Regions from separate parts of the Homo sapiens genome. Here region 1 is linked to region 2. Evidence: promoter capture Hi-C in 16 types of primary human blood cells and fetal thymus (Javierre and others, 2016). All regions are on one chromosome and are shown on one strand. The core of a region is centred on a gene start or on the middle of the fragment in contact, and the rest is flanking DNA. Distances in the headings are between cores, read along the strand shown. Region 1 has its middle 120 kb from the start of C17orf67. Region 2 holds the start of ANKFN1 (ankyrin repeat and fibronectin type III domain containing 1).

What was found. Contacts are between HindIII fragments. The CHiCAGO score rates a contact against its expected background, and 5 or more counts as called.
Region 1: a contact is called between a fragment that was not itself captured here and the fragment with the promoter of ANKFN1 in region 2, in 1 of 17 cell types (M0 macrophages). The highest score is 6.3, in M0 macrophages.

The regions. Positions count from the first base shown.
Region 1 is chr17:56,711,341-56,718,624 of GRCh38, forward strand. No RefSeq gene overlaps it. Among named protein-coding and RNA genes, the nearest start is that of C17orf67, 120 kb to the right of the region's middle. The HindIII fragment of the contact is 917 bases long and covers 3,737-4,653 here.
Region 2 is chr17:56,150,367-56,157,043 of GRCh38, forward strand. ANKFN1 (ankyrin repeat and fibronectin type III domain containing 1) reads left to right here and starts at 3,109. Exons shown (of 21, transcript NM_001370326.1): 1 at 3,109-3,164. RefSeq lists a silencer at 6,662-6,677. The HindIII fragment of the contact is 1,365 bases long and covers 2,636-4,000 here.

The DNA of each region.
Region 1 (7,284 bases), core at 2,945-5,444, 560 kb after region 2:
GGATGACTCCTGTGGGCTCCTTCCTTCATGAAACTAACATGAACGCACGTATTTTACAACTGCCTTGGTATAGAGACAAAAGTCAATATATCATAAAACATTTTCTTTGACCTAAAAGTTCATTTTTTTTCTGATTTTAAAAGAAATTAAAATACATTCATGGGACCCTAAAACTATTCTTATATCCTCTGAGCACTGTGCCTGTGTGTGGTACCCAAGGGATAATTTGGCCCTGCTCCAGCCTCCCTTTGCTCACCTCTTCCACAGGGCAGGCCAGCTCTGTATTGATCAACTCTGACTTAGAACATAATTTGTGTGTTGTTTTTGTTTGTTTGTTTACAGACAGGATCTTGCTCTGTTGCCCATCCTGTGGCACCATCATGGCTCACTGCAGCCTTCAATTCCTGGGCCCAAGCAATCCTCCCGCCTCAGCCTCCCCAGTAGCTGGGACTACAGGTGTGCACTACCATGGTTGGCTATTTTTTTTTTTTTCAGAGATGGGGTCTTTTTATGTTGCCTAGGCTGGTCTCAAACTCCTGACCCTGAACGATCCTCCTTCCTCAGTCTTCCAAGGTGCTGGGATTATAGGTGCAAGCCACCGCACTGGGTCTACCATTCTTTACAGTGAGAAAAACGTGTGTCCCTTGAGCTTCCACTGTCTTTGGCCCCAATCTTAAGTACAGAGAAAAGAAAGCTCCTGCTGTCCTGTAGGAGGTCAGCTGTCTGTAGTGGGTGGAATGGTGGCCCCCAAAGATATGTCCACGTCCCAGAACATCTGAATGTTGCCATATTTGGAAAAAGGGTCTCCAAAGATATAATTAAGTATCCCCATGTGAAATCATCCTGAGATTATCCAGGTAGGCCCTAAATCCAATGACAATACATGTATAAGAAACACACAGAGAAGGCATGCTGGGAGAAGACAAGACGCTGTAAAGATGGAGGCAGAGACTGGAGTGATGCAGCCTCAAGCCAAGCAAGGCCTGCAGCCACCAGAGGCTGGAAGAAGCAAGGAAGGATCCCTGCCGAGATGGTTTGGATTTGCGTCCCCACCCAAATCTCATGTCAAATTGGAGGAGTGGCCAGGTGGGAGGTGACTGGATCACAGATTTCCCCCTTGCTGTTCTCATGATAGCGAGTTCTCACAACATCGGATGGTTTAAAAGTGTGTGGCACTTCCCCCTTCACTCTCTCCTACCGCCATGTGAAGAAGGTGCTGGGTTCCCTTCACCTTCCGTCATGATTGTAAGTTTCCTGAGGCCTCCCAGTCATGCTTCCTGTTAAGCCGGTGGAACTGTGAGTCAATGAAACCTCATTTCTTCATAAATTACCCAGTTTCAGGTAGTTCTTTAGAGCAGTTAGCAGAGACTAACACATCCTGCTGGAGCCATTGGAGGGAGTCTGGCCTTGCCGACACCTTGATTTCAGACTTCTGGCCTCCTGAACTGTGAGGGAACAAATTTCTGTTGTAAGCCACTCGATCTGCAGTTATTTGTCACAACAGCCCTAGGAAACAAATATATCGTCCATTCCACAGTGCTCCTGCCCCAGGCTCCTGCCTTGTGGAGCTGTAGAAAGAACAAGCGCTTCAAAGTAGGCTCTGAATCTGACTCTGCCAGTGAGTATCTGAGTAAATTGTCCTACAAGGGATAAAAAAGTATTGAATTTTTTATTTCCATTTATGTAATTACAACTGACAATCTAGGCCAACATGTATCTCCTTGAAAAAGAAGGAAAATTAAAAGGAAAGATGACTTATAAGTCCAGAAACAAGAAAATGCAAGTGATATTTTCCAGAAGGGTCACATGAATTATCCCGTAAGTATAAGGTGAACATGTTGTTTGCACCAAGAGAGTCGCTGAGGTGGGAAAAGGCCAATGAATAACATCATCTCTCAAGAAAAAAAAATGGTACAGTGCTCTATAGTGGCATAGAGATGTCCACATACCCCCCACAGAAACCCTGGCAAACCCTTGTGTGATTCCTAGAACCATACTTTTCTGTACCCTATTAACTCATATGTAAAATGGGGACAACTATCTCTACCTTACAGGGTTGTTTAGAGGATTAGAAATAATAACTAGAAAATGCCTAGCTCGGGTTTAACAACAGAGGGAATCATCAAGTCCTGTTGGGCTCCAGGAATTGAGCCGAACACAGGCCTCTTCCTTGCTCAGATTCCTGTGTAGCCTGGTCCTGACATTTGGGGACAAGATGGGATGCCTGGAGTTTTGAGGAGAGGAGCCAGCTCTAAAGGGAGTGAATTTGAGAAAGATTCCCAACTAGGAGGCAGTGTTCATCTTGGCCAAAAGGCCTGGAGCATCCAGGAGTCCCCTTGGAAAAAACCTGGGGTCCACTTTCTTCCGAAAAATCAAGCAAACATTTGATTCTTTTCAGATATTTTCTATTTGATTATTTAGACAAAGAGAATATGGGGAGTTGAGGGAAGAGAAGGAAGAGCATCTTCATGAAGTCCCAGCAGAAGGGTCAGACCCGCAAAGAGGCCACAGGATGGGCAGGACAACCTCAAGTGACTCTTTTTTCCATTTATGGGGGGACAAGCTCTTGCTCTGTCACCGAGGCTGGAGTGCAGGGGCACAATTATAGCTCACTGCAGCCTCAAACTCCTGGAATCGAGCGATCCTCCTGCCTCAGCCTCCCAAGTAGCTGGGACCACAAGCATGCATCACCACACCAGGTTATTGTTTTCATGTTTCATACAGATGACATCCCACCATGTTGCCCAGGTTGGTCTTGAACTCTTGGCCTCAAGTGATCCTCTCGCCTCGGCCTCCCAAAGTGCTAGGATTACAGGCATGAGCTACCATACCCAGCCCCTTTTTTGAGGTTGCAGGGAAGAGTATAAAGAGCAAGAAGTCGTAGGGATTCCAGGTAGTTGGGAAAAGAAGATGGGAATTACCAGTCTGGGCAAAGAGACATAGGAAGGCTAAGAATCCAGGGGCCACAGGAGGTGGGAAATGTGTAGGATGCAAAACAGGCAGTCAAAAGTCCCAGATCCCAAAGGCCGCCCTGAGGGCACCTGAAAACACTCAGCTCAAGTCTGATCTTCGCCAGGCTGACCCCTCTCTTGCCTGGACCTCCCCTTCTAAGTAACCCCCTTGGGGCTCCTGAGGGTCCGAGGCTGATGGCTGCAGAAGTAGGAGGCACCTTGGAGCACCTACAAGTACAGAGATGGGCCAGGCAGACCTCAGCCTGTCAATCAGTGGAAGAGGTAGGTTTAAATCTAGGTACCCAACTCCAGATCCCATACTCTGAACAAGGATACTGGGTGTTCCCTCCTCATCTATAAAATGAGGACAATAACACCTTTCTCACAGGCTGTTTTGGGAATTAGAAACAACCCACTCACCTTCCCTAGCACATCCTAGACCATACACCAAAGCTTTCATCATGGCCAGTGGGACCATGCCTGGGCCACATTCCCATCAGTTTCTGCTATAATTTGGATATTTGTCCCCACCCAAATATCATGTTGAAATGTAATCCCCAATGTTGGAAGTAGAGCCTGGTGGGAGGTGTTTGGATCATAGCGGTGGATCCCTCATGCATGGTTTAGGCCATCCCTTTGGTGCTAAGTGTGCTCCTCTCCGAGTTCACAGGAGAGTCCAGTCATTTAAAAGCGTGCGACACCTCCTTCCCCGCACTCTCACTCTCTGGCTCCTGCTTTCACCATGTGAAATACCTGCTCCCTCTTCGTCTTCCGCCATGACTGTAAGCTTCCTAAGGCATTCCCATGCCTCCTGTAAAGCCTGTGGAACTGGGAGCCAATTAAAACTCTTTTCTTCATAAATTACCCAGTCACAGATACTTCTTTATAGCAACACAAGAACAGCCTCATATTGTCTCCCAGGATGTCAATGGCTGGGCACTCACTTTGTTAATGCTGTGTTATACTCTCATTCTACTAAATGGTAATGCCTTTCCTATATCTCCCATTGTCTTACACAGGGCCAAAAAATATTGATTTTTTAAATTTCCATTTATGCAATGACAACAGTCAATCCAGGCCAAAACATGCTTGAAAAATGAGGAAAATGAAAAGATGACTTATAAGTCCAGAAACAAGAAGATGCAGGTGATATTTACCAGAGGGGCCACATGAATTATCCCATAACTATAAGGTGAGCATACTGTTTCCACCTAGAGAATCGCTGAGGTGGGTAAAGGTCAATGCATAATGTCATCTCTCAAGAAAAGAAATGGTACAGTGCCCTACGGTAGCATAGAGGGGCCCACATCCCTCACAGGACCCTGGCAAACCCGAGTTCTTTAAAACTTGGCCCAGGGGCCTGTCATTGCACAGGCATTTTCCAGACAATCTATCCCCACCCAGTCCAGGTAAGGTAGAGGCTGGAAGGGAGCTGTGCAACTCACAGGCGAGGCCTCACTTCCTTTGAACCCCAAGAATCTGAAGATTTGGAATCAAGCAGACCTGGCTTCAAGTCCCTGGCTCTTCAACCTGTAACTGAGAACCTAGCTCCAATTATTTATAATAAATTCTCTGAGCCCTCAGTTGAATGGAGATGACAACTTTCTTGGGCTGTTTAGAGCCCAAATGAGGTGACTTGTGGAAACACAGTTTAGACAGATGGCAGGACTCAAGGACTGGTAGCTCTTATTTCAACAGGGCAAGCTTTTTTCCTGATCAAGTCTAGCGTTTCCCAGGCCGATGCTGTAAGACTATACGTTGGGCCAACAGCACCACCTGGTGGTCAGTATAAGATCTGGCAAATCTCGCCCGGGGCTTCAGACCTAGTCTGGTCCTAGGGAGGCTGGCGTCACACACACAAAAAAAGACTGTCCCATAAAGAGGAACCTGGTTGAAAGAGGCCCCACAGTCAGGAAGGAAGCATAACCTGACCTATTTTCTTCCCTAAGAGAAGAAAACCTGGTAGTGTCCAAGAAACTGAACACTGGGTTCCATCCACCTTAGGTAAGACATTTCACTTCTCTGAGCTTCCATTTCTTTATTTGTATAATGAAAACAATGATACTTTATTTGTAAGTATCAAAAATGAAATAAATCTAGGTCTAGTGGCAGGCATCTAGTGAACACTCATGGCAATTTTTTATGTTTAGGAAGCAACTGCATGTGTCTGATCCCTAAAAGCTTTACCTAATCTTTAGACAACATTATGTCTTGTGTGTTTGGGGCAAGTTTTCAAGAAGAAACACTCAGTAGCGAGCCCTCTCCTGGGCCCAGCTCCCTACCTCTGAAGCCACCCTCTGCCTCTGGGGCCACTGCTTCAGGGTCAGACCTGCTTGGGGAGCACCTGTGAGAAGCTAGGGTTCTCGGGCACTGGCAAAGAAGGAGATCACCCATTCATTCATTCATCTAACAAAAGCACTGAACATTTGAGATACAAGGATGGTTTTGACATGGCTCCTGTCCCCAAGGAGCTTGCATTCTAACCGAGACAGCAGAATAATAAAGAAATACTTAATTGCTGACCAGGCGCAGTGGCTCGCACCTGTAATTCCAGTACTTTGAGAGGCCAAGGTGGGCGGATCACCTGAGGTTGGGAGTTGAGACCAGCCTGATCACCATGGAGAAACCCCGTCTCCAATAAAAATACAAAAAATTAGCTGGGCGTGGTGGCGCATGCCTGTAATCCCAGCTACTCGGGAGGCTGAGGTAGGAGAATCGCTTGAACCCGGGAGACCGAGGTTGTGGTGAGCAGAGATTGCGCCATTGCACTCCAGCCTGGGCAACAAGAGTGAAACTCTGTCTCAAAAAAAAAAAAAAAAAAAGAAAGAAAGAAAGAGAGAGAGAGAGAGAGAAAGAAATATTGAATTGCGACAGGCCAGGTACTCTGACAGAAATGTGTACTGTTTAGAAAGATAGCACAGAGGAGAAAGTAGCCAATTCATCCTGGGGGAGTCTGATGGATCGAACATTTCAACAAACACAGGAAAGAACCTACCAAGCGTGGAGCACAATGGGAGGACCTGGAGATTCAAGGATGAGTAAAACCCAATCCCTTGCCCAAAGAGGTTGTGGTCAACCCGGGTAAGGGAAAGATGCAGAGAGAACATGATGTGTGGTCTGGGACTGCAGGGGTGTTGGTTAGGGGAGCTTGAGGCAAAGTGAACAGCCTGAGCAAAGAAAGACTTAGAGTAGAGACGGAGCAGTGTCCACCAAGTGCCTTCTCCACACTCATCCTTTGTGTCTTCTGAGGTGCTTCCTCTGCTTTGGGATTCAGGAAATGCAATTTTTAAAATTCAATGCCATTTTTTAAGCCTGCTTATCCTCCACTCTGGTCCCTTTTCCCTGGGGTTGCAGATGTGCAAGGCCTGAATCACATCACCCAGAACATGCCCAGGCAAGCCCACTCCCTACTTATGTTGCCCTGGCACGGGCGACACCTCCATCCCCAACCCCCTCGGTTGTGAATCCTCTCTCCAAGGTGAACTTCTCACCAATGGCCTGGGACAGCTTCCCCAAGTGTCTACACCACTGTCCTCCCTCAACCCCCAAACTACCTGAGGCTCCAGTGTCCTTCTGCCCTACCAGCTGGAGGAGGCTGGGATGGAGGGCCATGTTATAAGGGTGCTATGGTAGAAGAGGGGCCCACAGGTTCTAGGTGCCCTTGCTGATCAGTTCCAAGAGAAGTGAGTGGAAACTACCACCCAGGCAGCTTCATTTCCTGAGAGCCTACTGTGTTCATTCACTCTTCAGTGGCAGCCGAGCAAGGCAATTAAGGGCTTAGGGCCTGGATTTCACATCCAAGTTGTATCACTTCCTGGCTGGGTGGGCTTGGATAAGTCACTTCGACTCTCAGTGCCTCCATTTCTTTTTCTGTAAAGTGTAGACTAGGGCTTTTGTGAAGATTAAATAACATAAAGTACTTAGAAGGCTGCCTGGTACAGAGCAAGAGCTCATTAACCATTAGCTATTGTACAACAATAATTATTTCTTGAGCATCTACCATGAGCCAGGACTGAAGCTGCAGCTGTGAACCAAAAAGACCTGGTCGAGAGACAAGCCATGAAAGTAAGACACAAATGTTGCTATAATCACCACTGTGATGGGCGTTATGAAGAAAATGGGTAGTATTAATGGAGAAAATAAAAGGAATAAAGAGAGGCAATGGAATTGTTAATATTTTGGGGGTAGTGAAATTTAAGCTGAGACCGAAAGGATGTGTAGGAATGAAATGAGGAGCTGTAGGAATGGATGCCAAGGTCCTGAGGCAGCCAAGAACACTGAGCCATCAGGAACTGGAGGGAGAGGGCCAGTGTGGCTGCCTTGCAGTGAACAA
Region 2 (6,677 bases), core at 1,859-4,358:
TGGAGCTGGGTTACCGATACCCCCTTTAGACGTAGCATTCGGTCCCTATTTTGCCACAGTCTCCACCACTCTTTATTACCTGACACAAAGCCCACTGCCCTCATTTGTCTCACTTAGCTGGCCTCTGTAGGCATTTAACTTTGAGATCCCAATGTGTGGTAATGGTATTGGTTTAAGCAGAAGCTAGTTGGTGCCCACAAGTTATAAATGCACTTGGGTAGTAGATACAACTGAATTCTAATTCCTTTCCCTTTCCTTTAGGCATTCTTCTGCTCATCACATTCTCTTCCCAAAATGCTCAGCACCTTATGATGAATGCCGAGCACCAAAATATCGTCCCTTCCTGCCACTGTAGTGTAACATAACCCCAGGTTAGCCTCCTTCCACCAAGACTCTCATTCCATGATGTCTCGCTTATCACTCCCTAGCCCAAGCAGAGTGACCTTGAGAGCTGACTCAGGGAGATATCAGTGACATTGCTGTCACTTGAGTCAATATTGGCAAAGGAAAGTGCAAGAGAAAGAATGTGATGAAGTAATTAGTTGATTATTTGGGAAAGGATTTGGGACACCGGGGAAGTGAATAGAGTGACCTGACCAGGTGGAATGATCAGCCTGGAGAGCTCACTCTGGGGACAGAGTGAGAGGCAGGATGGAGGGACAAGGACCTGACATGGGGAGCCCACTAGGGAAGTTGTGGCTGAGTGTTTCCAGGCTAAGAGTGTAGTCCCATCTCTGCTCACTCAGTGTGCAGCCACCTCTCTGGTCCTCAGTCTTCATCTGTGACCTCCTTATGACCTTATAGCATTGGTCCTCTATTACTCACTTTGGCACCTAACACCCTCTACCTGCTGTTTTCATCATGAAGGTGCAGTGAGGACAGGACCTGCTCCCTTTGGTTGGAATCTTCCCCTGGTTAGTGCTGTCAGCCATGCAAAGTTTGTATTGTGTCATCATCCCCTGAAGAAAATAAGAAGGGAATCTGGGTCCAGATATTCCCAAATGATATGAATGTCTAAAATGCTGGGTTTGTGGCTATGTGCCAGTTGTAATTTGTGCATTTTTTGGTAGTAGGTTTTGTTGGATTTAGATTAGTCTTTTTATAAAATAAGCAGCATGGTAGAGTGGAGAAAGTGCTGGGTTGGGGCTATTTCCAGCCTGTCTACTACTAGGAAACACGCCCTTAAATGGGGCCTCTTTAGAGTAGATGGGCTGACAAAGCCAAGGGTATTGAAAAGAAGAAATAAGCACGTACCATGCAAGCCTAACTGGGCCTTTTTGCAACTCTGAGTTTCTGGGGTTTCATAGCCACAATCTGACCAACAGCACCACTGAGAGAGCTGGTTTTTATCCATTAAATAAAAGCATTACTTCCGTTACTCTCAGCTACACTTACTGCAGTAAGCCTAAGTAACATTAAAGACCAAGTCACCTTCATCTTACATAGATTTTAAACTTTTTGAAGCGGGCAGATACTATACCTTCACCTTGACTTGAATCTTCCCTTGAGCTTAATGCAGCTGACACTCAACAAAACACTCACAAATTGACTCATTGCTGTTCAATTCTTGAGTATATGTATCATGCACTTCCTATGTAACAAGCGTTTTACTAAGTATTAAAGAGTTTTTTTTAAAGAAAAGGAATGAAGCATGGTGCCTTCCATCAAGGAGATTCCATTCTGGTAGAGGGCCATTCCTGTGATTATGTACACATGCAGCAACAACTAAATCCATTTGATAAGCATTCTGAGGAAAAACTGTAAAAAGTACTATGGAAGCTGAGGTTGGGGATAGTAATGGAAAGTTCCTGGGGTAACTGATGCCAGAGCTAAGCCTTGGAAGATGAGTAATATAAGAAGCTCACCATCTTGCAGGGAAATATATATATATATATATGTGTGTGTGTGTGTGTGTGTGTGTGTGTGTGTGTGTGTGTTTAATTTTTCTGAGTGCCTCACTGTAACTCAGTACGAATATCCTCACTCCATGTTAAGCCCAGATCACCTGCAGAGATACCTATTATTACTTCTTTTCATTTACTTGTCTTTTTTTTTCCTATTGTATAGTAGCAGCAACATTTAGATAGAGAGTTCCCTTGAATTCTCTATTTTTAAAAAAGCAATTAGACATTCATGATCAAGGGTAATGGGGCTCTGGGCTCAAGTCCTCTATTTTGTTCCCATTCATCTGTGGGTCAATAGGTAAGCCACATCTGCTGAGCCTCAACTGCTTCAAAGTACTCATCCTTGCTGGACAGGCAAGTTGCTGGAAACAAGTTTTCCTTCAGCAACCATTCAGGTGGCAAATGTTTTATTGAACATCTACACTGTGCCAGGCACTAGGTGAGGAATCAGGGTCCAATCAAACTCTCCAAACCACTGCTCAACATACTCCTCCTTTGACAAATGGGTTTTCAAAATAAGCATGCACATAATGTGCCTCCTTTGGCACACTTCCCAAGAGATTTCACTCTGAAAAGAAAGGCCAGCCTCAGCCCTTAAAGTGCAGGCCAAATAAAAACTTGCTTGACTATCAAGATTATATTATCATCTCCCCTCCAGTTCCCACCAGACTTCTAGGAAACAGCCAGACAGCTCCTCCAACCAATCCAGTAGCCAAAATAATCCATTCCAAAGCTTCAACTGAGCATCTTAATGAAATAATTGTTTACCTGATTAGTATTCAGCATCCGCAGAAGGAGGCTAAAACCCACCCCTTTCAACCTTTCCTCTCTCAGTCTCACTCTCTCTTTCCTTCCCACCCTGTCTCCTTTCAGATATACTTTCGAATCCCACCCCTTTCAGGGGCACAAAGACCAACTCAAATCTGATCGCAGCATTATCAATCAACTTATTCCCTCCCCACCGGGCACCTCCTAAGATATTTTTCACCATTTCTTTCATTCTTTGAAAACGATTTCTTTGTCACCAAGCCTGTGTGGCACTTCCCCTGCCTCTCCTCTTGACCCTGCACTGTAATCTGGACACTCCTGGAGCCAAGCCGTGGGAGAGGCAGCCATGCTCAGTCTCCCTGGATAAAGCCAGGGTTCCCTTGGCAACGGGACCGTGTGGACATTCGCAAAGGGGTTTCCCTCCACCCCCCAGGTCCTCTTTCAACTCAAGAGCTCAGTCCTGTGTCTCTCATGGAGGCGTCTCTAACCAGGGTAGGAAAACAATAGTTCTAAATATCGGTAATTGGTGTTTGGAGGCCATTGTTTTGCATTCAACAGGCAGGAAAATGTGAGTTGAGTGGGCGAGTGAATTCGGGCGTTAGCTGGTGAGCATCCATGGTCAGGCAGAGGGAAAGCTGGTTTCATTTCTGTAAACAGGCAAATGTTGATCTGAAGTAGTTTGGGTCTGTAATGTGTGTCTTTGTCTTTTGGGAGGTGGGAGAATGGGGAGATTAAAGGAGAGAGGCTTCTAGAGACAAGTTTTTACTTTATGGTCTGTTTTCTCTTTTATCCTTATCATTTTATTTATATAAAGCAAGGAAACCAGGGATTACTTGTCTCCATGTTAATGCCAACTCTTGCTCATGATTTCTGACTGTTCACACGCTCTCACTGTCTCCCACATGGATTCTCTCCTTCTCTCTCTCTCACTTTTTATGGACTTTATTGTCATGATGATGGAGAAGTAAAATTTTTTCTAAAGTTGGAAGTGGATTTTTTTTTTGTAAGAGGTCATCTCTGAAGAGCTGAGCCAGGGCTAGGCAGGACAGAACTGATTGACACATACTAACCCTGTGGGTTGTGTCGGTGGTATCGGAATCCCTGTTACTGACCCAGATTGGTCCAGAAGACCTCAAATGTGCCTTTGGTTGATGGAGGAAATGCCTGTTATTGACTTGGTTAATACTAATCACAGGTTTCTACAATAATTCAGAAGGTTATTATTGAAGTCCTGGCTGAGGTCCTGGTAGGGGATACTAATAGGAGGAACTTATTCAGCTACTTCACTTCCCCTCAGGAGTTCAGAGTAGGTGAGGACCTTACCAAAAAGCTTTTCAGGAATGAACCTGAAGCTTAAGACCTTTGAAAAAACCAGAGATAAGTGCAAGTAAGGCATGAAAGGAGGAGGCCAGAGCACCGTTCAGTTTTCCTTTCCTTTTCTCTCTTTTCCTTCCTTTCTTTCTTTTTCCTTCCTTCCTTATAAAATCACATCCAGAGTGAGGCCTAAGCATAACTGCTTATGGAACCTCTGAGAAGGTATCTTGAAGTACTTGCTGAGTTTAAACTGGCTACTGCATTAACCTATTAACCAATATGCCAACACCAAAAAAAAAAAAAAAAACTTATTCCTTTTACTATGTATTCAAACTTTCAGTAAACCCTTTGGGGACAGGAACTATACAGTTTTCAATATTTTGCCCCTGATTCTAACCAGTTAGGGGCCAGGTACATTTGGGGGGCTCCATTCATGGTTGTAGAATTGAATTGAATGAACAGTGTGGGGTATGATTACCATTTGTTCCATGAAGTGTAGAGCTAGGACTAGTCTTGTGGTCAGAAGACTTAGGCTCTAGGCTCAGGTCTGACACTAATTAGTGGCAGAACTTCGACCATACTATTTCAGTTCTCTAACACTCAGTTTCTTCATCCATGAAGTGACAGAGTTTAAACGAGAACAGTGTTTTCCCAACAAAAGTAGTTATCTAAAGCCTTCATGCCCCCCTCAACCCTGGGGGATAGGAGGGTTTGGGAGAGGGAGGCCCGTCTGGTCAAGAACAGCTGCTGCAAAAAGGAACATGGCAGACAGAGGAGGAAGTAGAGCAAAAAGTGGCTCAGAGACTGGAAGCTGGAAAATGCTGGACCTTAGAGGACTCCTCAGGTCCCTTGTAACTCTGACATTTATTCAGAGTCATGAGACTTATCTCTCCCAGTTTTGTGTCACCTCTCCTGTATTAGGTACTTTTGAAGATGACACAAAGCAGTACTGTCATTTGTTCTGATATAGGCAAGCAAGCTACCTTTCTTCCATGAGACAAGGCTTCTCACTGCTGAGAGGTCTGAATCTCTGCCCTTGGAATGTGCCAAGCAGCTGGTCCTAAGCCAGCCACGCTCTGTCTCTTCATTCCAATATAGTCTTTCATTTATTCGACAATCAACAGGTAATTATTGAAAGCCAATAACTTTCCTTTTTTCTGGATAGCGTGGTCAGGAAGGTTCTCTTTGAGGAGGTGACAGTTAAGCTGAGGCACCAATTAAGTGAAGGAATAAGCTGTGCTTACAGTGGGAGAATAGCACTGGCTTGAGTCTGAGGACCCCCGTAAGTATGAGGCTCTTGATTTGGGGAGTCAGCTTGGCATGTCTTAAGGCAAAGCAAGGTGCCTGGGGCAGAAACAGAGTGAAGCAGAGAGGAGAGGTCAGAAGGTTGGAGTGAGATGACACAGATCACAGGGGCCTTGTAGGTCATGATAGGGACCAATGGGAAGCCATTGGATAAATTTTTACATAGAAATAATTATATCTGATCACTCCAGCAAATGCGCAGAGGATAGTGTTCTATAGATGATATCTGCAAAGTGGTTGGTTAGAGTGAAGGGCTTGGAAACTAAGCAGCCTACGTGGGAAGTCACATGGTGTCTGGGAAACTTGGATGTGGTTGGATAGGCCTGGATTTGAATCCTGATCTTGAGGCTGACCTATTGTGTAATTTGGGCAAGTTATTTAACTTCCCTCTTCTCCATTTCCTCATCTCTCTCTCACTCTTTTTTTTTTTTTTTTTCCTTGAGATAGAGTCTCACTCTGTCACCCAGGCTGGAGTGCAGTGGTGCAATCTTGGCTCACTACAACCTCCACCTCCAGAGTTCAAGCAATTCTCATGCCTCAACCTCTCGAGTAGTTGGGACTACAGGCATGCACCAACACTCCAGGCTAATTTTTTTGTTGTTGTATTTTTAGTAGAGACAGGGTTTCACTATGTTGGCCAGACTTGTCTCAAACTCCTGGCCTCAAGTGGTCCACCCACCTTGGCCTCCCAAAGTGCTGGGATTGCAGGTGTGAGCCACCACGCCCAGCCTGTTTCCTCACCTCTTAAAGAGGGACCACATTATCTACCTCAATGAGTTGTGAAGATGAAAGCAGAGAGATTACATATGTTATCTCAAAGCAGCTGCTTAAAATGATAGTGTTATTGTCCAAACTAATCCCATGACCTTTGCACTATGGGCCACAGATGAGCAAGACAACTGGAAACGTAAGATGCATGGTGGGTTTCATATATTATCCTCTTTATACCTTGCTCCCTTTGGGAACGTGGGAGGTGGAAAAGGAAGGAGTAAGGTGACTTGTGCCAAGTCTTGCAGCTGGTTAAGGTCAGGGCTGTGTCTAGGGGCCAGGTTCTTTGTTCCTGCCTCATGTTCTTTCTTTTACGCTTAGAGTTAGCAAACTACAGCCCCACAGGGCAATCCTAGCTTGCCCTCTGTTTTTATAAATAATGTTTTATTTGAACACAGCCATGCTCACTCATTTATAGACTATCTGTGGCTGCTTTCACACCAGGGCAGCAGAGTTGATTAGTTACAACAAAGACAGTGTAGCCCCAAAAAGCCAAAATATTTACTTGCCAGAACTTTACAGAAAAAGTTTGCCAGCCCCCCATCTACACCATTCTTCTCCCTTAATTGGCATGGCTTTATTGTATTTAGCTTAGATATTACCAAATAGGAAAGGCTG